Regions from separate parts of the Homo sapiens genome. Here all the other regions are linked to region 1. Evidence: promoter capture Hi-C in human tissues and cell types (Jung and others, 2019). All regions are on one chromosome and are shown on one strand. The core of a region is centred on a gene start or on the middle of the fragment in contact, and the rest is flanking DNA. Distances in the headings are between cores, read along the strand shown.

Evidence for each region. The method cuts DNA at HindIII sites, captures the fragments that hold promoters and counts their contacts. A contact is called where the count stands out against the background at its distance.
Region 2: a contact is called between a fragment that was not itself captured here and the fragment with the promoter of MELK in region 1, in 1 of the 25 tissues and cell types used here (mesendoderm cells).
Region 3: a fragment that was not itself captured here is called in contact with the fragment with the promoter of MELK in region 1 in 1 of the 25 tissues and cell types used here (H1 embryonic stem cells).
Region 4: a fragment that was not itself captured here is called in contact with the fragment with the promoter of MELK in region 1 in 1 of the 25 tissues and cell types used here (spleen).

The regions. Positions count from the first base shown.
Region 1 is chr9:36,570,931-36,577,614 of GRCh38, reverse strand. It overlaps MELK (maternal embryonic leucine zipper kinase), which reads right to left and starts at 4,720. Exons shown (of 18, transcript NM_014791.4): 1 at 4,608-4,720. RefSeq lists a silencer at 4,639-4,918 and an enhancer at 5,502-6,001. The HindIII fragment of the contact is 26,418 bases long and covers 1-6,684 here.
Region 2 is chr9:36,354,736-36,360,948 of GRCh38, reverse strand. It overlaps RNF38 (ring finger protein 38), which reads left to right. Exons shown (of 12, transcript NM_022781.5): 5 at 3,007-3,174; 6 at 4,476-4,646. Among named protein-coding and RNA genes, the nearest start is that of RNF38, 42 kb to the left of the region's middle. The HindIII fragment of the contact is 4,996 bases long and covers 1-4,926 here.
Region 3 is chr9:36,712,419-36,718,883 of GRCh38, reverse strand. No RefSeq gene overlaps it. Among named protein-coding and RNA genes, the nearest start is that of MIR4475, 110 kb to the left of the region's middle. The HindIII fragment of the contact is 5,393 bases long and covers 1,231-6,465 here.
Region 4 is chr9:36,380,180-36,386,695 of GRCh38, reverse strand. The region is part of intron 2 of RNF38 (ring finger protein 38); the gene reads left to right. Among named protein-coding and RNA genes, the nearest start is that of RNF38, 17 kb to the left of the region's middle. The HindIII fragment of the contact is 8,504 bases long and covers 638-6,516 here.

The sequences.
Region 1 (6,684 bases), core at 3,471-5,970:
CACGCCTGTAATCCCAGCACTTTGGCAGGCTGAGGTGGGTGGATCACTTGAGGCCAGGAGTCACATGCCACCACTCCTGGCTAGTTTGTTTGTTTGTTTGAGATGGAGTCTTGCTCTGGTGCCCAGGCTGCAGTGCAGTAGTGCGATCTCAGCTCACTGCAACCTGCGCCTCCCAGGTTCAAGCTATTTTCCTGCCTCAGCCTCCCAAGTAGCTGGGACTACAGGCGAACAACAACACCATACCCGGCTAATTTTTGTATTTTTAGTAGGGATGGGGTTTCGCCATGTTGGCCAGGCTGGTCTCAGACTCCTGACCTCAGGTGATCCACCCTCCTTGGCCTCCCAAAGTGCTGGGATTACAGGCGTGAGCCATCGCCCTGGCCAAGCAAGCCTGTTTAAGCCTCAAACTGATGAGTGGCAGGTGCCACGTAAACTACCTTCAAATTCTCTGTTCTTCACCCTGCCCTTATCCAGAACTGAGTGACTAGCATGTTACTAAGCCTTAATAATGGCCATGAATTTGGAAGACCTAGAGTGTGAGTTCAACCTCAGAAGTGTGGTGAGCTTATAAAGGAAGACAGAGCTTAATAAGAGAAGGCCCTTCATACAATGATGAGTAGTCTTCTTAAAATTGAGGTGGAAAAAATTCTGAATGAACTTATCAAAACCCCAAAAGCCACAAAGGACATTTTAAAAATATCATTTTTCTATGCCTGAAACACTGATTCCATGAATCATTTTACTTGGAGAGAAAAAGAAAATTATTATCAGCAAGTAAAAAACGGCTGGGCACAATGGCTCCCGCCTGTAATCCTAGCACTTTGGTAGGCCAAGGCAGGTGGATCACCTGAGGTCAGGAGTTCGAGACCAGCCTGACCAACATGCAGAAACCCCGTCTCTACTAAAAATACAAAAATTAGCCGGGCGTGGTGATGCACACCTGTAATCCCAGCTGCTAGGGAGGCTGAGGAAGGAGAATCGCTTGAACCCAGGAGGTGGAGGTTGCAGTGACCCGCGATCACGCCACTGCACTCTGGCCTGCACGACAGGAGTGAGACTCCAGCTCAAAAACAAACAAAAAAAATTTGGTCAATGAATAGAAAACTAGAGCAGAAGCTTTAGAAGGAAAAATATCGACACTCAAGAAAAAAATTAAATCAGCTTTAAAAAACAAGGTTCAGTCTTCAACATCAAAGCAGAAATAGCACACAAAAAGATAACATGCAAAACGACATTCTGATAAAATAAACAATATTAAGCCATTTCCTAGGAAGAGATCACACTGGACCCAACTTAATAAGTAGGTTGAACATTTAACCTAACGAAATCTGCATGAACACAGTAGGCAAACATTAGAAGAAGCAAGGTCAGGTCCCAGTACTGAGGGAAAACTGTTGATAGAAAATGAAACATTCTGCTTCCACTGGAGTAGAAAAAGTTACTCAAGGCAAGGAGATATCACAGAGGACAAATTTATTCTCACTGGGCACCTGAAGGCACAGGATTAAATACTTTAAACAGCAACACTAATTCAGAAATATTTTAAAGGGCATTTGTCAGTGGGGCAAATGTGGGGATAAACTGGAACCTCATCCTAAAAACAAACAGGAACCATAGGACTAAGAAATTCCAAAAGGCAATAAAAACAGTAAAAGTATAGAGGTCAACCTAAGGCTCAGAAATCTTTGGAATCCTGATACAGAAGAAAAAAGAGAGCAGGAGAATGGAAATGGAGGAACACTGGACTATAAATCTGAATGCACATGTTTACATTCCATGCAAAGGACTGGGCTATTTCAAATTGTCACTCAGAAAGAGAAAGCAATTTGTAAGATGCTGGAATTCACTTCCCAGATTAGGGATTTAAGAGTGTCATAATTAACTTAATAGACTTCTCCCAAAAGAGTTATAAACATCCCAGTCATGGCCTCTGGAAAACTAGCAGAGATGGGCAAGTTGTTTATTTAACAACTAAGGTAAGACTGAAGCCATGCACTTTTTTTTTTCTTTCTTTCTTCCATTTTCTCTATCTACCCGCTTCTCTCAAATTACATCATGTCTTTGGATGAGTAATACCAATGTGGGCCTAGATTATAGCTACTGAATCAAGGGAATATCGTTGTTGCTGCAATGTGAGAAAACTGGTGCTTACATTACAAACTCCTACACTAATAGCAGATTATACTTGATTTGTAAATCTTTGTGAATGTGGAGCTGGTTCTAAATATTCTCATGTGCCCTGTTTATCCTCTAGAGTTTGTTAATATAGAATACAGAAAAGCCTTGAGAACAGAGTAACCCAACTTTGTAGCTGCTGAAGGAGGTATATTATCAGTCAACGCGGAAGACAGCCTCTCAACTGTGAATAATGAAGAAGGAAATTAGACCCCAATCAGACACCTGAGTGCCCTTCTGGGCTTGACTAAATAAATAGAAGAATTGGGGGTATATATAATTGGGTTTTGTTTTTGTTTTTGTTTTTGAGACGGAGTCTTGCTCTCTTGCCCAGGCTGGAGTGCAGTGGCGTAATCTCGGCTCACTGCAACCTCCGCCCTCTGAGTTCAAGCAATTCTGCCTCAGCCTCCCAAGTAGCTGGGATTACAGGTGTGCGCCACCACGCCCGGCTAATTTTTTGTATTTTTAGTAAAGATGGGGTTTCACCATCTTGGCCAGGCTGGTCTTGAACTCCTGACCTCACAATCCATCTGCCTCGGCCTCCCAAAGTGCTGGGATTACAGGCGTGAGCCACCGCGCCCGGCCTATAATTGGGGTCTTTAACTTCTCAGAAGAGCAAGGAATTGGGATAATGAGAAGACGTTTATGGTTAAATTTTAAAGGATAGCAACAAATTGGGGGCATTTTTTAACAATATTATTTGGGCTATTCTATTACTTGCCGCATAAATACATTTACCTTATCTACAGAGCTTGGAAAGACACTGATGCTGAGGATAATTTCAAACAGGAAGTAGAATACAGAATGGTTTTTTGGGTTTTGTCTGTTTATTTGCTTGAGACAGGGTCTCGTTCTGTCACCTAGGCTGGAGTGCAGTAGCTAGATCTCGGCTCACCGCAACCTCCGCCTCCTGGGTTCCAGAGATGCTCGTGCCTCAGCCTCCCCAGTTGCTGGGATTACAGGCATGCGCCACCATGCCCGGTTAATTTTTTTTTTTTTTTTTTTTTTTGTATTTTTAGTAGAGACGGGGTTTCGCCATGTTGGCCAGGCTGGTCTAGAACTCCTGGCCTCAAGTGATCCGCCCACCTCGGCCTCCCCAAGTGCTGGGATTACAAGCGTGAGCCACCACGCCGGGCTCAGAATGGTTTATAATGTGGCCTGTAACACATTTAATTAGCATCCTGCCCTGCTCCCTTGCAAAGGCTTCTGGGAGCACCAACAATGAGGCACTCATTGGGATTGATCTGCCCATCTAGTTGGTCCACAGTAGTTACACAGAAAGGACAGACCCTTGGGAGAAACAAGCCCACGAAGGCCCAGTAAGGGCTTTTCTGATTTTTCTGATTTTCTAGCCAGACTCCATGGGAAACAGAAACCAAAATTTAAACCAAAGTTAGGAACACTGGCCTCTAAACAACAATCCAGGCTCCTGATACTCACCTCATTCCACTAACAAAGGAGAAATACCAAAGGTAATTACCCGTCCTAAGTGCTAGGGACCTGATTCCTCTCTTGGGCAGCCTTCCCTGAGTCTACCCTTTCCAGCTCCCACAACCCTACACCAGGTTTCTTGGTGGGAGCAATCCTGCTGCTCCTATTACTGATACAGCATTCGGTGAAAATTCCCCTTTTAGGCCGGGCGTGGTGGCTCACGCCTGTAATCCCAGCACTCTGGGAGGCCAAGGCGGGCGGATCACCTGAGGACACGAGCTGGAGACCAGCCTGGCCAACGTGGTGAAACCCCGTCTCTACTAAAAATACAAAAAATGAGCCGGGCGTGGTGGCGGATGTCTGTAAGCTCAGCTACTCGGGAGGCTGAGGCAGAAGAATCGCTTGAACTTGGGAGGCGGAGGTTGCGGTGAGCCGAGATCGCGCCATTGCACTCCAGCCTGGGCAACAAGAGCGAAACTCCGTCTTGAAGAAAAAGAAAAAAAATTCCCCTTTTAGTGTGAGCCTCTGAAGCCACTACTCTGGGGAGATGATAGGAGAGGATGGATTTGGACTCTGAAAAGGTAGTGATAACACATCTCCTTTTTTATTGCACTGCCCCAGTAAACTGAGTTGTACAAACAGAAAAAACTCGAAACCCTTCTGTCAACTTTTTTCGCGGGGAAGAGTCACGGAAACTGGAAACGGGAAATGGGAATTCACGTCTATCGCAGCCTCCTAGGTGGCAAACGCTTAGCCTGAACACCTCTTCAATAACCCTGTTAAGTAGACACGGTCATTATCCCCACTTACGGAGAAGAAAACCGCGGGTCGGAAAGGTCAAATATCTTATCCAGGGAACAGGGCTGGTAAAGCGCGGGGCTCCGATGAAATCCTCCAGTCTCCCGAGAGCCAGGAGCAAACTGGGTTTGGGCCGCTGCGCCCCGCACAGCCCAGACCCCAGCCATCAACTGCGACTGCGGCGGGCAGGCGGGAGAACTGACCTGAGGGGCGGAGGGCACGGCTGAGCGGCGCCCGACAGAAGGACAGGGGCCTGCTGTCCTGAGAGACGCGGCTGGTACGGCGTTCCTAAGAATCTTTTCGATCGCCGGGTTGTGGCCGCTTCCGCCCGCCAAGGGAATCAAATCTCCCGGGCCGGAAGGGGCGGGGACGCGGCGGGGGCGCGCGCGGCGCCGGATCCCAGGGAAGCGGACGCGCACGGCAGGCGGGGGCGCGCACAGTGCCGGGGGGTTCTCACCGGGGCAACGGCTCGCGGTCGCTGTGGAGCCGTGAAAGGGATGGCCGGGAGGTCCACTGGGCTGCGAGGGGTGACTTGAGGCCTTGGTCTTGCCCCGGAGGGCACGTGATGATTTTCCAGGTGGCGTGGATATGCCAAGTCTCCACAGAACCCAACTTTCTTACGTTCTCTTCCTAAAATTGACGTGCCCTCTGGCAGTCACAGTTCTCATTTTCGTCCTCCCTTGCCCACTGGCCGTTCTCCCACCCAGCAAAGACAGGAATACCTCCCCCTCTCCAAAATGTGTTGCCACGAGGAATAAGAACCCCAGTAGCTGAGACTACAGGCACGCGCCACCACGCCTGGCTAAATTATTTGTGGGTAGAGACGGGATCTCGCTATGTTGGCCAGGCTGGTCTCGAACTCCTGGGCTCAAGCGATCCTCCCGCCTCAGCCTCCCAAAGTGCTGGGATTACAGGCGTGAGCCACTGTATCCGGCCCAGAAAATCTTTAGACAAATTAAACTTTACAGAGTTGAATTGACCAAAGAATGAGTCCAAAATCCAGTAATCCCTGGAACCAAAATAGGTTCAGAGTGATTCGGGCTGCCATATGTTCAAATAACATTTATGGACAGAAAAAGGAAAATGACTTACAGAAATTGCAGTCAAGTATGGAAACAGCTGGATTGGTTGCAACTCAACCTCTGACTATTTTGAGCACTGTTTAAACAGTTGGCCACCTGTGATTGGCCAAAACTCCGCTGCTGTGATTGACTGAGACTCGCTACTTGTTACAAGGTTACAGTCTCTTTACACATTTACAATTGTAGTTGTCTACAATTCACTATGTATGGAGAAACTGTTAGGCCAGGTGCAAAGGCTCACATCTATAATCCCAGCACTTTGGTGGGGGGGCGGGGGCAGATCATTTGGGGTCAGGAGTTCGAGACCAGCCTGACCAACATGATGAAACCCTGTCTCTACTAAAAATACAAAAAATTAGCCGGGCTTGGTGGCGCGAGCCTATAATCCCAGCTACTCAGGAGGTAGAGGCAGGAGAATCTCTTGATTCTCTCTGCTGGGAGGCAGAGGTTGCAGTGAGTAGAGATCGTGCCACTGCACTCCAGGCTGGGCAACAGAGCAAGACTCCGTCTCAAAAAAAGAGAAAGAGAGAAAGAGAGAGAGAAAAGAAAGAAAGGAAGAGAAGGGGAAGGGAAGGGGAAGGGAGGGGAAGGGAGGGGAAGGGAAGGGAAGGGAAAGGAAAGGAAGGGAGAGAAAGGGAGAGAGAGAAAGAAATAAATTGTTAGTCTGAACTTAAAATGCATAAGGAGGCAGCTTTATGCTAAACTTAATTTAACATGGTCATCTGAATCTTCAGCAAATCATAATCTTTTTGCTGGTGGAGGGTCTTGCCTCCATGCTGCTGATTGATCAGGGTGGTGGTTGCTAAACGTTGGGATGGCTGTGGCAATTTCCTAAAATAAAACAACAATGCTGCATCGATGGACACTTCCTTTCATGAAAGATTTCTCTGTAGCATGTGATGCTGTGTGATACCATTTCATCCACAGCAGGACTTCCTTCAAAGTTAGTTCTCTGAAATCTTGCCACTGCCTTATCAACAAAGTTTATGGAATATTCTAAATCTTTTGTTGTTATTTCAGCAATGATCACAGCATCTTCACCAAGAGGAGCTTCCATCTCAAGAAAGCACTCTCTCTTTGCTCATCCGTAAGAAGAAACTCCCCATCTATTCAAGTTGGATCATGAGATTGCAGCAGTTCAGTCACATATTCAGGCTTCACTTCCAATTCTAGTTCTCTTGCTGTTTCCACCAAATCT
Region 2 (6,213 bases), core at 1,179-3,678, 210 kb after region 1:
TCCCAGCTACTTGGGAGGCTGTGGTGGGAGGATCACCTGAGCCCCAGGAGATTGAGGCTATGGTGAGCCGTGATGGCACCACTGCACTCCATTGTTGGCAATATATCAAGACTCTGTCTCAAAAAAAATGTGTGTGCAGTTGGTCGGGGTAGGGGGGTGGTATTTGTGACAAAGGCTGTTTATTAGAAATCAATAGTTTTATTGGTAAAATTCATCATACTTTTCCATTAAAATCAGATATAGGATATAGGTACTTATACACATTATTTTTGAAGGTTCTAGTTTGCTAACACAAAAAGATGATAGTTGGGTTGAACCTTATTCAGGTTGGACACCCCTAATTTGAGTATCTGAAATGCTCTAAAATCTAACTTTTTGAGCACCGACTCAACACTCAAAGGAAATGTTTATTTTAAGCATTTTGGATTTCAGATTTTGGGATTAGAGATGCCAAATTGGTAAGTATAATGCAGATTTTCTAAAATTCCAAAAAATCCAAAATGCTTCTGGTCCCATGCATTTCAGATAAGGGATGCTCATCCTGTAGTTGTATACCTAGGAAAGGAGATTCTAAGTTTTTTAAAAATACCAGAATTTAAAAGTTGGTAAGGTTGATATATTCAAGATAATATAGATAAAAATTATCTTCGTACTAACACTAACCGCTTTGACATGCAAATAGAGTAAAATAACCTCTTGTCATTATAACAGAACCACAGTTTGAGGAACAAATTTAATAATAAACTTTGAGAAATAAATTTAATAATCTTTTTGAAGAAAACTAATTTTTTTTTTCAATCCTGTCTTATGGGGTTGAAGGAAGACTTAATTTCTTCTTGAAAGACAGAACCGTGATATTCAACGTAATGGCATAATGTTTCTGGGTATAAAAAGTCTTAATATAGGTCAGGCACGGTGGCTCACGCCTATAATCCTAACACTTTGGGAGGCTGAGGCAGGCAGATCATCTGAGTTCAGGAGTTCAAGACCAGACTGGCCAAAATGGTGAAACCCTGTCTCTAATTTAAAAAAAAAAGCCAGGTGTAGTGGCACACGCCTGTAGTCCCAGCTACTCGGGGCGGGGCTAAGGTAGGAGAATTGCTTGAAACCAGGAGGTGGTGGTTGCAGTGAGCCAAGATTGTGCCATTGCACTCCAGCCTGGGCGACAAGGCTGGAGCCTGGGCGAAACTCCATCTCAAAAAAAAAAAAAATCTTAATATAAAATTCAGTCCTTTGTAAAATAACATATTTAGTACAATCTTAATACTAATGGGTTTTGGAAGTGAATAAAATTGATTTTATACGTAAGAATAACTGTGTGACAATGCCAAAAAATGAAAAGATGTATGGTGAGAAGAATTTCTTACCAGATGCTAACTCTTCCAGTAAGATACTGTAGTTAAAGCAGCATGAAATCCAGGAATGTGTGCGTACTTAATGAATTTTTAAAAAGATGGTATTTCACTGTAGAGGCAAGAAGATGGTTTAATAAATGGAGCAAGTATAATTGTCCATGTGCAAGCAAAATTAGAGCCCTACTTTATAAACAAAAATAAGTCTTTTGGAATACGAAAAACTAAAGAATTAGGAAATACAGGAATATATGTTTATAACCTCATCAGTAAAGGAAACCCCAAAGCTACACTCTGGCTACATTTAAAAAAAAAAATCACAAAAGACAAAAATATGCCATTAAATAAAGGATCTCATCAAAAGATAAAACATAGACTAGGAAAATATTTTCATTACACACAACAAGCAATAGATTCATATACCTCTTAAATAAAAAAATTACAAATGATTATGACAACCTAGAGGATCGATGGGGCCAGGTGCAGCGGCTCACACCTGTAATCCCAGCACTTTGGGAGGCCAAAGCTTCCGCCTTGGCCTCAGATGAAATTAAGTCTTCCTTCAGCCCCATAAGACAGGATTGAAAAAAAAATTAGTTTTCTTGTCGCCCAGGCTGGAGTGCAATGGCGCGATCTCAGCTCACTGCAACTTCCACCTCCCAGGTTCAAGTGATTCTCCTGCCTCAGCCTCCCAAGTAGCTGGGATTACAGGCACCCGCCACCACTCCCAGCTAATTTTTTGTATTTTTAGTAGAGACGGGTTTTCACCATGTTGGCCAGGCTGGCCTCATCCTCCTGACCTCCAGCGATCTGCCCACCTCGGCCTCCCAAAGTGTTGGAATTACAGGCATGAGCCACCGTGCCTGGCCAAACTAATATCATATTTTTTCAGTTGTGTTTATATTGGCAAAAGAGTTGAAAACAATTTGAACATGTGTTGATACACCATATGATAGGACTGTGTTAAGCAAGTGTTTCTTAAAATATCTGGCTAGTACCAAAGAGAACAAGTTACTTTTAACTCCCTTGCATACATACCTGCAATGTAGTATTAAATGGAAAAACAAAGTTGCAGGGTAGTATGATCTCATTTCTGTTAAGAAAACAAAAATAAATGTGACATTTTATATGTAATTGTGCTTTCATATGTTCATGGAGAAAGAGAAGAAGGATATGTTATCAGCATCGTTTGCCTCTGGGTGGCAGGTAGGATGGGAATAAGATTGGCTAGGCGGGAAATGAGATTTCATTTTTTTAAAAATATACTTTACATTGTTTCACTAGTTGTAATTAAAATTTGTTTTGAATGTGACCAAATAATGGAAGATACAAGCTTTAATGATTCCAGTTCTTTTTATTCTGCCTTTATAGGACAGGCTAGAAGAGTTAATATAGTAATCCATTATTTCCCTGGGCTTTTCAAGTCATTTGAGGGAGGAGTTTAGCCCCAATTTTGTGGAAATAGTATATACTCTTGAAATAGTCAACTCTCCCCTACAAAGACAATGAATATTCTGGTCGAAACTATTGGAGAGTACATTGTGAAAATCCGTGTAGCTGAGAGAGGAGCCAATAAATGACCAAATGTTGATTTTGAATAGTTAACATTTTATCTAAACAGCTAAAGTTTGTTCATTTGTTTTTTCCTTTAAAGCTCCATCAAGGAACAGTCCCTGTTTCTTACACAGTAACAACAGTGGCACCACATGGGATTCCACTCTGCACAGGCCAGCACATCCCTGCTTGTAGTACACAGCAGGTCCCAGGATGCTCTGTGGTTTTCAGTGGACAGCACCTCCCTGTCTGTAGTGTGCCTCCTCCAGTAAGTCTCTATCTTTGTTCTCATTAGATATTACTATTAAGCACACCAGCCTGAATTTGGTTTTGTAACTTCCCGACTCTTACCCTCTTTAGAGGGGCTAACTGCATTATATAAGCAAACAAAATTTAAGAGACTGTCTTTGTAGTTTCACTTTCAAGTAAAAAGGCCAATTTTATTGCAATAAAAATCTCAATAATATCCTTATAGTAACCATTTAAGAAAATTAGCTTTATAACCGGATATATTTTTACATTAATTAACTTATACATATATTTGGATATCCTGAGGGTCAAACCATGTTTTCTCATATGTCAACACCGTTTATAATTAAAGCCAATGAAGGTCAGCCTAAGTCTCAGAGACCTTATTGTTCAACACTTAAGAGTCTCAGCACTTACTGAGTTTTAATGGGCACTTTGAGTGCTTTGTCTTATTCCTTACTATAGGAAACCTATGATGAAAGTAGCATCATCCCCCATTTTCTAGTGTCTGAATCTGAAAAGTTAAATATGACTTGCTCAGTGCCGTAGAGACAGCTAGTATAGGAGAGTAGAGATTCACACTAACTTTTTTTTTCTTGCCTCTGAAGCTTATGCTTTGTCCTTTAATCTTTAATCTCAGTTCAGCCTCCTTTCAGAAATGAGGGCGCTGTATTTAAATGATGTATCTAAGGTCAACAATGTCTTCAAAGGAAATCACAGCAAAATTTAAATGTAACTCTTAATACGTTGCTCTGAATGTGAGATTAAAGCAAGTGCACACTTATACCAATACTAACTTAACAGATTAATTTACTCAGGCTTAGTTTCTCAGTAATAGAAACATTGTACCAAATTTGGGAACTAAAATACTGAGAGATTATAAGGCAATTAGTTGAGAGTTGTGCTCTTATGAAAATCCTAGGAAGAAAAAGATTTCTACAGGATTGAAAAGGGGAGTTTCTTGAAATACCGGTAGTGTTTGCTACATCTTAAACCAACTAGAGAGAGTTTCCTCTTCTTTGCAGCACTTCCCCCCCGCCCCCCCCACACCCGCCCCAACCCTTTTTCATAGATGGTTAAAAGGCTCAAGGATTTCAACCAATTTATAAAAATTATATAAAATACAGAATAGTTATTAGTACCATTACTTTACTAGTAGATTAAAAAATACACTGGTATTTCATTGTTAATATAAGCTATTAAAAACATTTTCATGATTTTGGGAGAGGTGTGACAATGACAGATTTTAATCTCACTATCCTTTTAAATTAATCATATATTCTGATATTTTTAACCAAACTGTAATGGTTTCTCTTACAGATGCTTCAGGCATGTTCAGTTCAGCACTTACCAGTACCATATGCTGCATTCCCACCCCTTATTTCTAGTGATCCATTTCTTATACATCCTCCTCACCTTTCTCCCCATCATCCTCCTCATTTGCCACCACCAGGCCAGTTTGTCCCTTTCCAAACACAGCAATCACGATCGGTAGGTATCTCTACTATTATGTCAGAATGTTTAGTTTTTAACTAATTTTTAATTTTTTCAGAATGTTTAGGCCAGGTATATAACCTTAGTGGATTTAAGAACCAGACGAATGCCTAAGTTACTATGTTTAAATGGCATGCTTAAACATAGTAACTTGGCCAGGTGCAGTGACTCACTCCTGTAATCCCAGCACCCTGGGAGGTCGAGGCAGGCAGATCACCTAGGGTCTGGAGTTCAAGACCAGCCTGGCCAACATGGTGAAACCCTGTCTCTACTAAAAGTACAAAAATTAGCCGGGCATTGTGGCACGTGCCTGTAATTCCAGCTACTCAGGAGGATGAGACATGAGAATCGCTTGAATCCAGGAGGCAGAGGTTGCAGCGAGCCAAGATCATGCCACTGCACTCCAGCCTGGGCGACAGAGTGAGACTCTGTCTCCAAAATAAACAAACAAACAAACGTAATAACTTAGGCATTCTTCTGGTTCTTGAATTAAAGGAATCCAAACATATACAAATTAGTATAAACGTTTACCTTAAATTTCTGGTTTCTTAAATTTTTCTAGTTATTTTAATGTCACTTGTCTAAATTTGTGTTCTATTACATCTGCAGTCCTTCAGGAAGTAAATCTGAAGAAAAGTTTTTAGTTGTATTGTTTTTTTCTTTTTATGTGGTTCTAAATTGGAAAATGAAAATATTATAAAATTATTAATACTTGTTAGAATAATATTTGTATTCATTTAGGCAAGGAAATTAACCTTTCTGAACTTGAGTTACTTTTTCTGAAGGCCTGGTTTTTCACTATGTTGTGATGAAAAGCAGATGAGGTAGTCTGTTAACATAGTTAATTCTGTCTTGGGACTGGGATATAGTTGAGAGGCCTATTATTTTGGGACACTGGGAGATATAAGTACTATATAAGTACAAAGAAGGGCACAGGAAAAAAGGTCCAGTTGTTTTGATAGGCCAGGTTCAGCATCAAGACCATCAGACATTAAGGAGAAACAGGAGAGATAACCTATAGAAGTGGCTAAAGTGGAAGATTTCAGCTCTGTGGAAAGAACTTGACAGTTTATTGTAGCAGTCTTACCATTGTTTACTAAGGATTTCTATACCATGCTGGGTACCAAAGAGGCTGCTGTCCTGAAAACTGTAGAAGCAATTATGACGCAAGTTTGGCTCATCAGAAGAGGTAGAATTGCTTCTGCAAGACAATCTTTTCTTGGAAATAGGATAGGATTTGTGCCAGGATGTTCTCCTTCTCAGCTTCCAGTATCTGGGAATTCAAGGCTAAAGCAAAATTTAGCTATCACTTGTATCTAAATTTGGAATTCTTTTAAAGGTCCAGTCACATAGCCATATCAAGACTTTGTTTTCACTAGTGTTGTCATAGTGTAAGCAATTGTGATTTCTCTCAAGCATGCATAGGCTTCCAAATTAAAGCTTAGTATTTACTTATATTTGAATAACATGTTGCTATTCTGTAACTAAGGGAAGAAGTCAGACTAGCATTTAAAAATAAATGTGCCTAAGAGAATTCAGTTGAAAACATCAGCATGAAAATGTG
Region 3 (6,465 bases), core at 2,678-5,177, 140 kb before region 1:
TCCCTTTAGGCCCCAGCAATCTCCCTGTCAGGCAAACGAAGGGGTTCAATCAGGCCTCTTCCCACACAAGCCCCAGGAGACCCAGGTGGTGGTTTGAGCTGGTTTCCCCTTCACCCAGGCTCCCTCACTGTGCAGCTAGTACCACACCTGGTACATAGTAGGCCTACAGTAAACATGCCTAACCATGTGACAACCCCAAGCATAGAGAGATCTGCCTTTTCCCAATGGAAAGGTCCAGAACAAAGCTTTTGATCAACTTGCATGTATAAACTTTTAAAAATATAGATGAGATAATCAAAGTTCTACTTAAAATATTTAATTAATTTAAAATTTCAGTTATACATACATTTAAATTCACTCACATGAAATACGTTAACACACCAATGTAGTCATAAATTAATGTGTTAAACAGAAGTTAAAATACGAATATAAACTCTTTGGCTAATCACAAGTATATTTAGAAACATTGCTTTTTTTCCATGTTCACATTTAATTCATGAACCAATTGTATTCACTCCTCATGTACATCTTTGACATTAGTATCCTTGTCATCACTAAAAGCCACTTCTCGAATCATCTAGCACAGCTTTCCGGAGCACATCATCTTCACTTCCATCTAAGTCATTTAAGATACAGGACGTTTTGCATCGTGGATGATGCTGTCACTGGAAATGATACTCCTAGCCCCAAGTACCCATTCGCTATTCACGAGCTCTGCAAACGAACCACTTAGTGTATTGTTTTTTAAAGGGATCGTTAAAAGGCTTGTTTACAACATCCAACACTTGCAATCATAAGGAAAAATGACTAAATCTATGCTTCGTGTTTTCATCTCCATTTTTGCTCCGGTAAGTGACCTTTATAAGCATTTGAAACATAGGATCGATTGAAGTTACTTTGGACTAATACACTGTTCCCAAATAGTGCTTTGTGGGTCAAAATTAAGTGATTGAGAGTAAGGTCTGTAACAGGAGGGATTTGGTAAGGACGTGAATGGAAGGTAAATCCCTCTTTTTTGGGACATAATGGGTGAGTGGATGAAGTTGAAAGTTGAAGTCTTTGGCTAAATTCAAGAGCCCCTCTCCCAGGTTGAGGTTTATGGAGGGCTGCCCTTGAGGGTCCTCAGTGTCCTTCATTGGAATCTCTCCTGACTGACCTATCCATGTACTGGATTCCAGTTTGGGCAGAGAGAGAGCCCAGTGGTAAGGGCTGTAATCCCTACCCAGTCCCCAGCCAGGGAAAGGAAGCCACGTTGACCTGGTGCAACGTCTGTACAAACAGTGCACCAAGGCTTCTCTGCTGCCACCCTGCTAAGTCTCCCAGCCAGGCCGTGAGGTGGGTGTTTATGTGCATTTAGCCATGAGGAGATTAAAGCTCTAGATATTTTTCAACAGCATTTATAGAGACATGAAAACCCAGCCAATAATTAGTCTCCCTGGTGGTTACAAACTTTTGCCCAGTGACTCAGAGCTAGCTTTGGAGTTAGACATCCCAGTTTAAATCTTTGTTCTTCTACTTAGAAGACACATGATCAGTAGCAAGTCATTTAATCCTTCTGGGCTTCACTTTTGTGCCTATAAAATTGGGATGATAATGCCTGCCTCATAGGGTGTCATGTGGATTAAAATAATAGTTCTTAGCCCAGAAACCAGTATATCTTACACACTGCCAGTAAGAACCTGGAGCCAGGTGACCCATATGCTGAGGGTAGAGAACTGATATGGTTTGGCTCTGTGTCCCCACCCAAATCTCATCTTGAATTGTAATCTGAATTGTAATCCCGAGGAGTTGAGGGAGGGACCTGAGAGGAGGTGAAGGGATCATGGGGGCAGTTTCCCCCACGCTGTTCTCATAATAGTGAGTGAGTTCTCATGCGATCTGATGGTTTTATAAGTGTTTAACAGTTCTTCCTTCACATTCTCTCTCTCTCTCTCACCTGCCACCATGTAAGATATGCCTTCTTCCCCTTCCGTCATGATTGCAAGTTTCCTGAGGCCTCCCCAGCCATACAGAACTGTGAGTCAGTTAAACCTCTTTTGTTTATAAATTACCCAGTCTCAGGTATTTCTTTATAGCAGTGTGAAAACAGACTAATACAAGAATGTAATATACAAAGAGAACCAATCTCTCCTTGGGAGGACACAGCTTTCCCTGGACAGCAAGTGACCACACTGTTTATCTTTGCACATGCAAAATTGCAAGAAAGAAGATAAGCTTTAGTTCTAAACTAGCCACCCACCGAGACACAGCGCCAGTGACTATAGCAAGGGTGTCAGCATGGGACAAGCATCTTAAAAATTATGTCCATGGCTTGTTTCTCTTATTATAAACAAGATACAGTTCATTTTACAGAGGAGCAAAAACCACTACAATCAACTCTAATTCCCAGAGATGACTTCAGTTATTTTTTTGGTATAAATTCTTCTAATTCTTTCTGTGTTGTTGGCTGGTGTTTCATTTGTTCACTCTTTTGGTTACAATCATACGTTCATATTTTCCATATTATTTTGCAACTTGCTTTTCTGACCTAACACTCCATGAACATCTTTCTATGGCATTAACTATTATTTCACATCATTTTAATGATTACATAATGTTCAGTAGAATTGGTTGTGCCATGCTTTTTAAAAACCACTCCCTTTGTTGGAGGCTTTTGAGTTTTCATTTTTCCCATTACAAATACAAAGTCCACTTTGAATTTTATGGTGATTAAAGCACTTGTTCCCATCGCTTTGGATTTCTTATTAACTTAAAGGGAAAACAATGTAATAATCACTCTCCTCATTTGACAGATGAGAAAACTGAGGCTCACAAAGAAAAAGTGGGTTGCCCAAGGTCACCTGGTAGCTGGTAGAGCAGCATCCAATCCAAGTCTTCTGGGCTTCCAAACCAACCAGATTCCTGACTTTCCTTTTTTTTATCATGGAGAAATGAATACTCCAAAGGATGCTTATGTCTTTTCCTCCCCAGGAGCATCTGGGTTTAAATGGACCACGTAACACAATTCAGAAACTTTGACTTCTCAATGCACTGTAGCCCCTTGTCTTCTCTCAATCCTGTCAGCCAGTTTTGTTTTGATCATTGTAGTCACTGTGTCATTATTTTCTTGTTTGTTCAGTTGTATTTTGGCTGTTACAGTGATTGGGAGGGAGAGGGCGACTGGGATACTAGACATCCTGCAAGGCATGGATTGTGTTCAATTTACACTGACTTTTCCAGGAATGTAACCAACATTTAGTTTTTTAGTTTCGTTCTGTTTTGTTTTCTAGAGACGGGTCTTGCTATGCTGTCCATGCTGATCTTAAACTCCTAGCCTCTAGTGATCCTCCTGTTTCAACCTCCTGAGTAGTGGATCTACAGGTGCATGCCACCCTGCCTGGCTCAGTTTTTCTTTTTCTTTTTTTTTTTTTTTTAAGATTATTTTACTTCCTTCAACTCAGAGTTTTGTCATTTCAGAAAATGAAGAAATACCATGGTATTTGAGTCACTGATTCTCTCCCTCTATCGGTCTGCATCTGTGTCTGTCACATTGAAGGCAATTCTAAGTATATTTACCAATGTACTTTTTTTAGCCCTTATTTCAAAATGTCAAAGATAAAGAGAAAATGTCATCAACATTCCGTAGGATATTATCTTTCTTCTTACATTCAAACACTCAATATAAATAAGTGTAAATGCCTGAGTTCTTCACCGTGCTTTCTCATGTAGTTACGACCAAACATTTGCATATTGAAATCCATATTTTTAAAAATTTCTTTCCTTTTATTTCTCCACAGGGTCCAACTGTGTTGAGAACCACTGGCTTGGTCTGCCTCCCCCACTAGAACACCAGGTCCATGAAGGCAGGGCCTTGTCTGCCCAATTCACTGCCCCAGCCCTTAGCATTCAGAAGAGCATGTGATGAAAATCAGTTGAACAAAGGAATGATGGAGGCATTAAAAGATTTTGAGTGAGGAAGATATTTCCAGGCAGAGTTCAGCCTTAGACGAGTTGATTAGGTGAAGTTTCTGAAATTCCTTTTCTCCAAGTACAAATTGGGGTGGAAACCCCAATCTGCCTGGATATTGAGAGGATTCCAGGAGATCCCGGGTCTGGAGGTGGCTGGCCCGGTGCCTGGTGGAGGGGAGGGCTGAGTAAATAAGGGTTGTTGTTGTCATGATTAGATTTCTCAAGCAGTAAACCTTAACTCTCTATTTTCAGCTACCCCTCCTTCTCTGCTCAGAATCTGGGAGTTGTTACTAATACATTTTCCTAAGTACCTCCTATTCCCATTTATTTCCTGCCACTTCCCCCACCCTGAGCCTGGGCCACCTTCAATAATCTCACTCTAATTGGAAATTGGGGCTGTCAGGATGACCTTCCTCTCCCCTCCCCGGTTCTCACCTTCGTCCCCTTCTCTGACAGATGCGCACGTCCCCACAGCTCTAAGCAGAAGCCACCAACCAGGGGGGTGCCGTGAGGGAAGACTCCCATGGGCGCCGTGGCGGGCAGACCTGGTGCCCCAGACTTCAGCTGCCACGCAGGGAGTGAACCTGGCCCCTCTGCCAATTCTCCGTTATGAAATGCCGCCGCCCCCGGGGAGCCGTCTCCGGCCTTCCGCAGTGGCTCGGCAGCAGGTTTATCACACTCGCTGAGAGAAGACATAATCAATTCCCCAGCTGGCACTTTGCGCTGAATACCCACTTTTTCAGCTTGATAGCAGGACTAAATTAGTTATTTAGCAACTAGGCCCTAATTTAGAGCGAGCGAGAGCCTTGACAAGGATCATTGTTCAAGGCCATCCCCCCTTTGCCTTCAGATGGGAGGCCCACAAATCCCCAGAAGGTGATAAATAGACAATTAGAAAATAGATATATTTGGTTAGATCTACAAGGCTTCCCGGCGCTGTCAGGCTCACAATGAAGGGGGCCGGGGTAAATTGGTGGCCAATGAACACCAGCTGCACGGCCATCCGTCCTGCAGACACGCAGCCATATGTGGCCATTTACAGGCCATCCTGAAGAATAGATCGGACCAATAAGACCAGAGGGAACTAAAAATACTTGACAAAGTTGGCTGCTCTTCATTTAACAAGAATAAAATATCTAATGGGGTGTAATGGAAGCCATCAATCACCTGCTGCCAGAGCCAGCTATAACACCACACTTTAAACTATTAATGCAACTTCTTTTCTCTAATAAGTGGGACAGGCGCATCCGCTTTGTACACAGGGTGGCTGTTTGGGGAGTGTAGATGAATGGGAGATTCTGGAGAGCTGTGGCAGAGGATGAATTCTGGCCTAAAAATAGGAAAGGGATGGTGGGAATGTGAAATGGTGTCGCTGCTATGGAAAACAGTATGGCACTTCCCTAAGAAGTTCAGAAGACTTACCGTATGATCCAGCAATTCCACTCCTAGGTGTTTACCCAAAAGAATTGAAAGCAGGACTCAAACAGATACTTGTATGCCAGTGTTTATAGCAGCATTCTTCACAATATCCAAAAGGCGGACACAACCCAAGTGTGTACAAATGGACAAATGGATGAACAAAATGTAGTATATACGTACACTGGAATACTATACAGCCTTAAAAAGGAAGGAAATTCTGATATATGCTACCACATGGGTGAACCTTGAAAACATTATTCTAAGTAAAATAAGTCAGACACAAAAGAACAAATACTGCATGATTCCACTTACATGAGGCATCTAGAGTTGTCAAAGTCATAGAGACAGAAGGTGGGGTGGTGGTTACCAGGAGCTGGGAGGAGGGGAGAATGGGAAGTCATCATTTGATGAATATAGAGTTTCTGTAGGAAAAGATTTTAAAGTTCTGGAAACAGACAAAGATAATGGTTGTACAACTTTGTGAATGTACTTAATGCCATTAAATTGTATATTTAAAAATGGTTAAAACCACAAATTCTATGTTATATACTTTTTACCACAGTAAAAAAAAATTAATAGGAAAAGGAGAGCAGGCAAGACATTTGGAATCATCTGCTCAAATGGCAAACATTGCATTCAGCAGCTCAGGCTATTTGGTTATTTTCTACAGGATGAGGTATGTCAGTCCACCTGCTTCTTTCAATTCCAAGAAGCAGTCACTGAGCCCTCCTCTGCAAAGAACAAGGTCCTAGGCTGTAGGATGTGTGGGGAATCTGGCCATGCCTGCCCTCAAGGAGTTTTCATTCTACTACAGGAAACAGACACATGCAGAAAGAGCACAAAGAACCACAAGAGCCTGCAGAACTGCCCAAGTGGCGTAGGAGAGGGAAGAGGCAGAGATGGGGAAGGAGAGATGGAGCGTGGTAGGAAGGCTCTGGCACTGTTCATGAAAAGCAGGCCCCTTCGCTGGGGTGAGAACAGGCAAGATTGGGCCAGAAAGAGACAGAGGAAAGGCTCTCCAAGCAGAGGAAAGAATGTAGACAAAGATAAAGACCCTAGTGAGCAGGACACACATAACCCATTTGGCAGGAGTGGAGG
Region 4 (6,516 bases), core at 3,640-6,139, 190 kb after region 1:
TTTAGTGGGTTTTAGCCGGCTTCTTTACTGCAACCTGTTAATATCAGGAAGGTCTTGTATCTTGTGCTGACCTCCTATCTCATCCTGTGACTCAGAATGCCTAACGTGATGGGAATGCAGCCCAGCAGGTCTCAGTCTTATTTTACCAAGCCACTGTTTAGTATGGAGGCACTCTGGTTCAAACGCCTCTAACAAATTTACTAAAGTTAAATTAGGTGAATGAAAATTTGAAAAGCTATACACATAGAGAAATATGCCAGGTTTCTGAAAGAGAAAATTATTGTGAAAATATCTATATTCTAGCAAATTTGTAGACTTAATGAAATTTCTAGCCAAAATATCAGCAGAATTTTGTTTTTAGAGCTTTCAGAATTGTTTTTAAATTCATATGGAAGATTATTGAAGAAAAGGGGGAAAAACTTTTCCAAAAATTGTCATAAGGGGAGAAATATGCCATAAGAGATAGCAAATCCTATTAGAAAGAAATAGCTCTGTCAGAGACCTCTGTGTTGGTATTAGGTTGGTGCAAAAGTAATTCTGGTTTCAGACCGTGAATTTTAAATCATCGTAGTTAGGCCCAAACACATCTTTATTACTCAAAATGGGAACCATTACAATCAACACATTTTTACCAACGATAAATAAGTTTGTTTATTCTGGTAGCATAAAAATCACTGCTTCGGGATTGGACGTACTCTTGGAAAGTATTTTCTGCATCCTGCTGGTTGTAGAAGGCTTTTCCCAGCAAAAAAGTTGGTTGTCGAGATGCTTGAAGAAGTGGTAGTCGGTCAGCGAGAGGTCAGGTAAATATGGCAGATGAGGCAAAACTTTGTAACCCAATTTGTTCAATTTTTGAAGCGTTGGTTGTGCGACGTGCCAAGAATTCAACGAGAAGAACTGGGCCCTTTCTGTTGACCAGTGCTGGCTGCAGGCATTGTAGTTTTCGGTGCACCTCATCAATTTGCTGAGCATACTTCTCAGATGTAATGGTTTTGCAGGGATTCAGAAAGCTGTAGTGGCTGGGCACGGTGGCTCATGCCTGTAATCCCAGCACTTTGGGAGGCTGAGGCGGGTGGATCACCTGAGGTCAGGAGTTCAAGACTAGCCTGGCCAACATGGTGAAACCCCATCTCTACTAAAAATACAAAAATTATCCGGATGTGGTGGCACATGCCTGTAATCCCTGCTACTCGGGAGGCTGAGGCAGGAGAATCACTTGAATCCGGGAGGCGGAGGTTACTGTGAGCCGAGATCGCGCCATTGCACTCCAGCCTGGATGACAAGAGCGAAACTGTCTCCAAAAAAAAAAAAAAAAGCTGTAGTGGATCAGACCAGCAGCAGACCACCAAACAGTGACTGTGACCTCTTTTTGGTGCAAGTTTGGCTTTGGGAAGTGCTTTGGAGCTACTTCTTGGTCCACCCACTGAGCTGGTTATCGGTTGTTGTATAAAATCCACTTTTCCTCTCATAACAAAATCTGATCAAGAAATGGTTCCTTGTTCTTGTGTAGAATAAGAGAAGATGATACTTCAAAACGATTTTTTTTTTTTAAATTTTCGGTTAGCTCATGAGGCACCCACTTAACCGAGCTTTTTCACTTTTCCAATTTGCTTCAAATGCCAACCTACCATAGCATAGAACAATTCATGTTGAGTTCTTCGGCAACTTCGCATGTAGTTGTAAGAGGATCAGCTCGATGATTGCTCTCAATTGGTCATTGTCAACTTCTGATGGCCAGCCATGCTCCTCATCTTCAAGGCTCTCGCCTCCCTTGCAGAACTTCTTGAACCACCACTGCACTGTATATTCGTTAGCAGTTCCTGGGCCAAATGCATTGTTGATGTTGCAAGTTGTCTCTGCTGCTTTATGACCCACCTTGAACTAAAATAAGAAAATTGCTTGAATTTGCTTTTTGTCTAACATCATTTCCTTAGCCTAAAATAAACATAAATAGCAAGTAATAAGTCATTAACAAAGAACATAAAGTGAGAAATTCCCATTAAAATGATATATAACATAACCACATTTATTTAAGAACGTATTCCAATACCAAACGGCAAATTCCAACACTGCATAAACTGCAGTTATTTTTGCACTCACCTAATACATCTGGTGGATATTTTTCAGCCCTTCATCCTGCATCCTTGAAACCTCCTTCGCCTGGCTTCCATCACACTCCACCCTCCTGCTAATCAAGTACCCAGCATTAAATGTTGGTGTTTCTTAGGTTTCCGTATTGGGCCTTGTTTTCATTACATAAACTTTTGAGGGGCAATTTTGTCTATGTCTGCAGCTTCATGAATGATGATCTGTATATCAACACTCCTAAATTTATATTCCTACCCTCTGAGCTTCAGCTGTTTACAGAACACCTCCAGGCGGGGTATCTCTCAAAGGATCTCTTGATTTCAGGTTGTTTTAGTATCTTTCCTATTTTCACTGGTTTCATGTTTATACTTTAGATTTTTTGTTTTAGTCTCTTATCTATAATTATAGCTTAAAATTATTATAGTTACAGATACATGAGTAGAATCTAGTATTCTGGTAGAAATATAGTGATACTTACAATTGTAGCATCAAGCTAAATTAGTTTTTGTGAACCAGTGATGTTTTGTGTAATTAGGAACTGTGAAAAATATAGTATATAACATCACTAGTCTGTTACTCAAATACTAGCCATGCAGGCCTCCTTAGACTTAGGAAACCACTTTATTTATAGTTCCTGTGTTTTGGTGGACTAGCAGTTATAGCCAATGATAGGAAAATACCGTATTTTACTATTCATCATGGTGTGATTGCAATACGTTATACTACTAGAGTGCCTTTCTGAGCAGCCACTGCATATCAAACTGTTATTTTCTTTGGGCTTCGGTTTAAAAAAAAAAAAACTTGGCACGTATCAAAGAGCAAAATTTTTTTGTTTCTGCATGTTTATGGTAACTTTTGAAAACAACATGGTAACTTTTGAAAACAACATTCAGAGCCTCTTCTATATCTGCAAGTAAAATAACATTTCAGGAGAATATATTAGTTGTCTGGTTGAGAGACAGAATTTCATTGCAAAATTGTGATCTGAGGAGTATAAGAATTATACATCAAATGAAAGTCCTATGTGAAATGAGACTGTGTACATTATGTAGTTCAAGGGCAGCATGTTCACTGAACTGCCTTAAAAAGTTTCAGTTTCACTAATAGAAACACATTTAGGCCGGCCGTGGTGGCTCATGCTTATAATCCCAGCACTTTGGGAGGCTGAAGTGGGCGGATCATGAGGTCAAGAAATAAAGACTGTCTTGGCCAACATGGTGAAATACATCTCTACTAAAAATACAAAAATTGGCTGGTGCGCGCCTGTAGTCCCAGCTACTTGGTAGACTGAGGCAGGAGAATCGCCTAAACCCAGGAGGCGGAGGTTGCAGTGAGCTGAGATCGCGCCACTGCACTCCAGCCTGGCAGCAGAGCGAGACTCTGTCTCAGCAACCAAAAAACCACATTTTACGTATTATCTGGACATAGTTTAAAAATGAAAACCTCAGCTTGTGGAGAATAAAATGAGGTAATGTTAGAAGTCATTTTGTAAACTATTGTGTGATCCAAATATAAAATTCTTAATTTTCTGCTTTCCCCAGCTTATATCCATCTTCTGCAAAACAAAAAAGGATCTTGTCTTATTTTTTAGTAACAAGTTGCTTATATAGAGTGTTGATTTCTAAGTGTTTTCACATTTATTTAAAATGAATAAAATTTAGTGAGAGTTTGCTCTTCCTGGGCCCTTTGCATTTAACTGTTTTTCCTTAATTGTGGAATAAGAAACTTCATTTTTGTTAAAGGTAATTAAGGCAAGTAGAGAAAGTCTGGGAGTTTAAAGGAGAATTGAAGATTCTTAACTCATGCTGTGCTTATTTGTAAATCTAAGGTGAAGAGTAGTCCTGACTGATTAGAAAGAGGACCAGGTTCTTGAGAAATTCCATTTCCCCACACAAGTTGCCTCTTTGCTGCTTTGGGAAGGAAGTCCTTAGGGCTCACTAGTGGTTGCCATTAGAGGCATGTTGTAGTCACTGAGTAGAACTTGAAACCTGTTTCTGTTTTGGGAAAAGTTTGTCTGGCTCAGCATCTCCTATTATCTCTAAGACTTGCTGATATATATATAAACCCAAGATATATATTACATATAAAATTGTTTTTCTTTAGCCTTTAATGACTTCTGACTTGTTCATCTGGAATTATGGAATGCATTCTTATGCCTGCCTCAGGTTCATTTCACTTCTGTTGATGTTTTGGTAATAAAAATGGTTTGGTGTTAATAGAGGTGTACTCCTAGACTCATTTTTATCAGATTTAATGCTAAGCATAAAACCTGCCTTTCCTTCCTTCCTCCCATTATGACCTCTTTGACCTCCCTTGATCCCTAAATCTGTAGCAGTGTTCTATACTGTAATGTCTGTACAACGTTCTATATTATTAAATAATAGAGACAGTACTTGTACCAGATTTGAATCAACATCTTATGAATTTTAAATTGTCAACACTTGGTACTTTGAAAAGTTGGTCCACTGGCCTAGAATCAACAAGGAGAGGAGGGAAAGAACTTCTCTGCCTGATAATTCAAAATCTAAATTATCCAAGCATCATCACCTGGGATAATAGTAGAGATGACAGTTCATGGACCTCTGGTCCAGACTTTCTGAATTAGAGACGGGGGAGTGAGGCCAGCAAGCAATCTGGTGTTTCTGAAGCATGAAGGTTTGAGAACTACTGGCATAGGTATTAATGGAAAGACCCAACTCTGTGAAAACATTTTAAAGAGGTTTATTCTGAGACAATATGAGTGACCATGGTCTGGGAAACAGTCTCAGGAGGTCCCAAGGAAATGTACCCACTACAGTCGAATTACAGTTTTAGGGAGGCAGGAGTTACAAAGTCATAAATCAATACATGGAAAGTATACATTGTTTCAAACCGAAAAGACACAGAATATCTTGAAGTGAGGACTTAAAGATTTTAGGTGGATTCAGAGATGAGATTCTGTAATTTGCAGTTGGTTTATAGAGTAAAGCTTTGTCTAAAAATTTGGATTCAGCAGAAGGGAATCTTATAAGAAAGTCTGTTAACCAATACACTGGGTTAGAGTGACCTGTAGGGGTGTGTGAGTTAACCCTTGTCTGGCTTGGCCTTAGGTCCTGTTTATAATTTGGTATCTTATTGTCACAAAAAGTCCATTCTGTTAGGTCCTATAATTTCTATTTTAACATTAATGCTGGTCAGTTTTGCCTAAACTCCAGAAGCAGGGGATGGAGAGATAAAATGAGGTGTATCTAGTCTTCCTTCCTGTCCAGGCCAAGAACTCAATTTTTCTAGTTTCTCTGGGGTCTCTGTAGTCAAGAGAGAGTCAGTTCAGTCATTTGGGGGGGATTTTATTTTTAGTTTACAAAAGCAGTGGGAATATCCTTCCAGATTCAGTTTTGTATTTACTCATGTAAAGAGACCTTGTAGTAGCGTAGTTCTGGATGAGTTTTTATGTTTTTATGTTTAGAGGTTCACAGACAGCATGGATCGTGAAAATCTGAACCCCAAATAGGGTGTGAGGAGTGAACCTAAGTTTGAATTCTCACGGGAGAAACCCACTTCCACTCGAAGTCAACACAGAGCAGACATTTCCTTATTGACGTTTCCTTCTCTTTTCCACTGGAATGACTTTTTCTTGTCTTCCTTTTTAAGTGTACTACTTTGGAAATTTTGACTACTTCATGTAGGGGTCTCAGTCATAAGGCCTTATCTTCTATTCCTCTTGAGAGCATCAAAAATACAAATTTGGTCTTCAGTTTTCCTCAGTTTCTGAGTCCTTGATGATTTCCCTTTTTTCCCCTGCATTTAGCACTGCATTTTAAAAGCATGTTTGTTAGCCAGGCGTAATGACTCAACACCTGTAATCCCAGCACTGTGGGAGGCCGAGGTGGAAGGATTGCTTGAGCCCAGGAGTTTGAGACCAAACTGGGCAATATAGTGAGACCTTGTATCTCCAAAATTTTTTTTTAATTAGCTGGTCATGGTGGTGTGCACCTGTAGTCCCAGCTACTTGGGAGACTTAGGTGAGAGCATCTCTTTAGCCCGGGATGTGGAGGTTGCAGTGAGCTGAGATCGTGCCACTGCACTCCAGCCTCAATGACAGAGTGAGACTGTCTTTAAAAAAAAAACAGGCCGGGCGCAGTGGCTCACGCCTGTAATCCCAGCACTTTGGGAGGCCAAGGCGGGCAGATCACCTGAGGTCAGGAGTTCGAGACCAGCCTGACCAACGTGGAGAAACCCCATCTCTACTTAAAAATACAAAATTAGCAGGGTGTGGTGGCGCATGCCTGTAATCCCAGCTACTCGGGAGGCTGAAGCAGGAGAATCGCTTGAACCCAGGAGGCGGAGGTTGCAGTGAGCCGAGATCCTGCCATTGCACTCTACCTGGGCAACAAAAGCAAAGCTCCATCTCAAAAAACAAGCAAAAAAGTATGTTATATTTAAGCCATT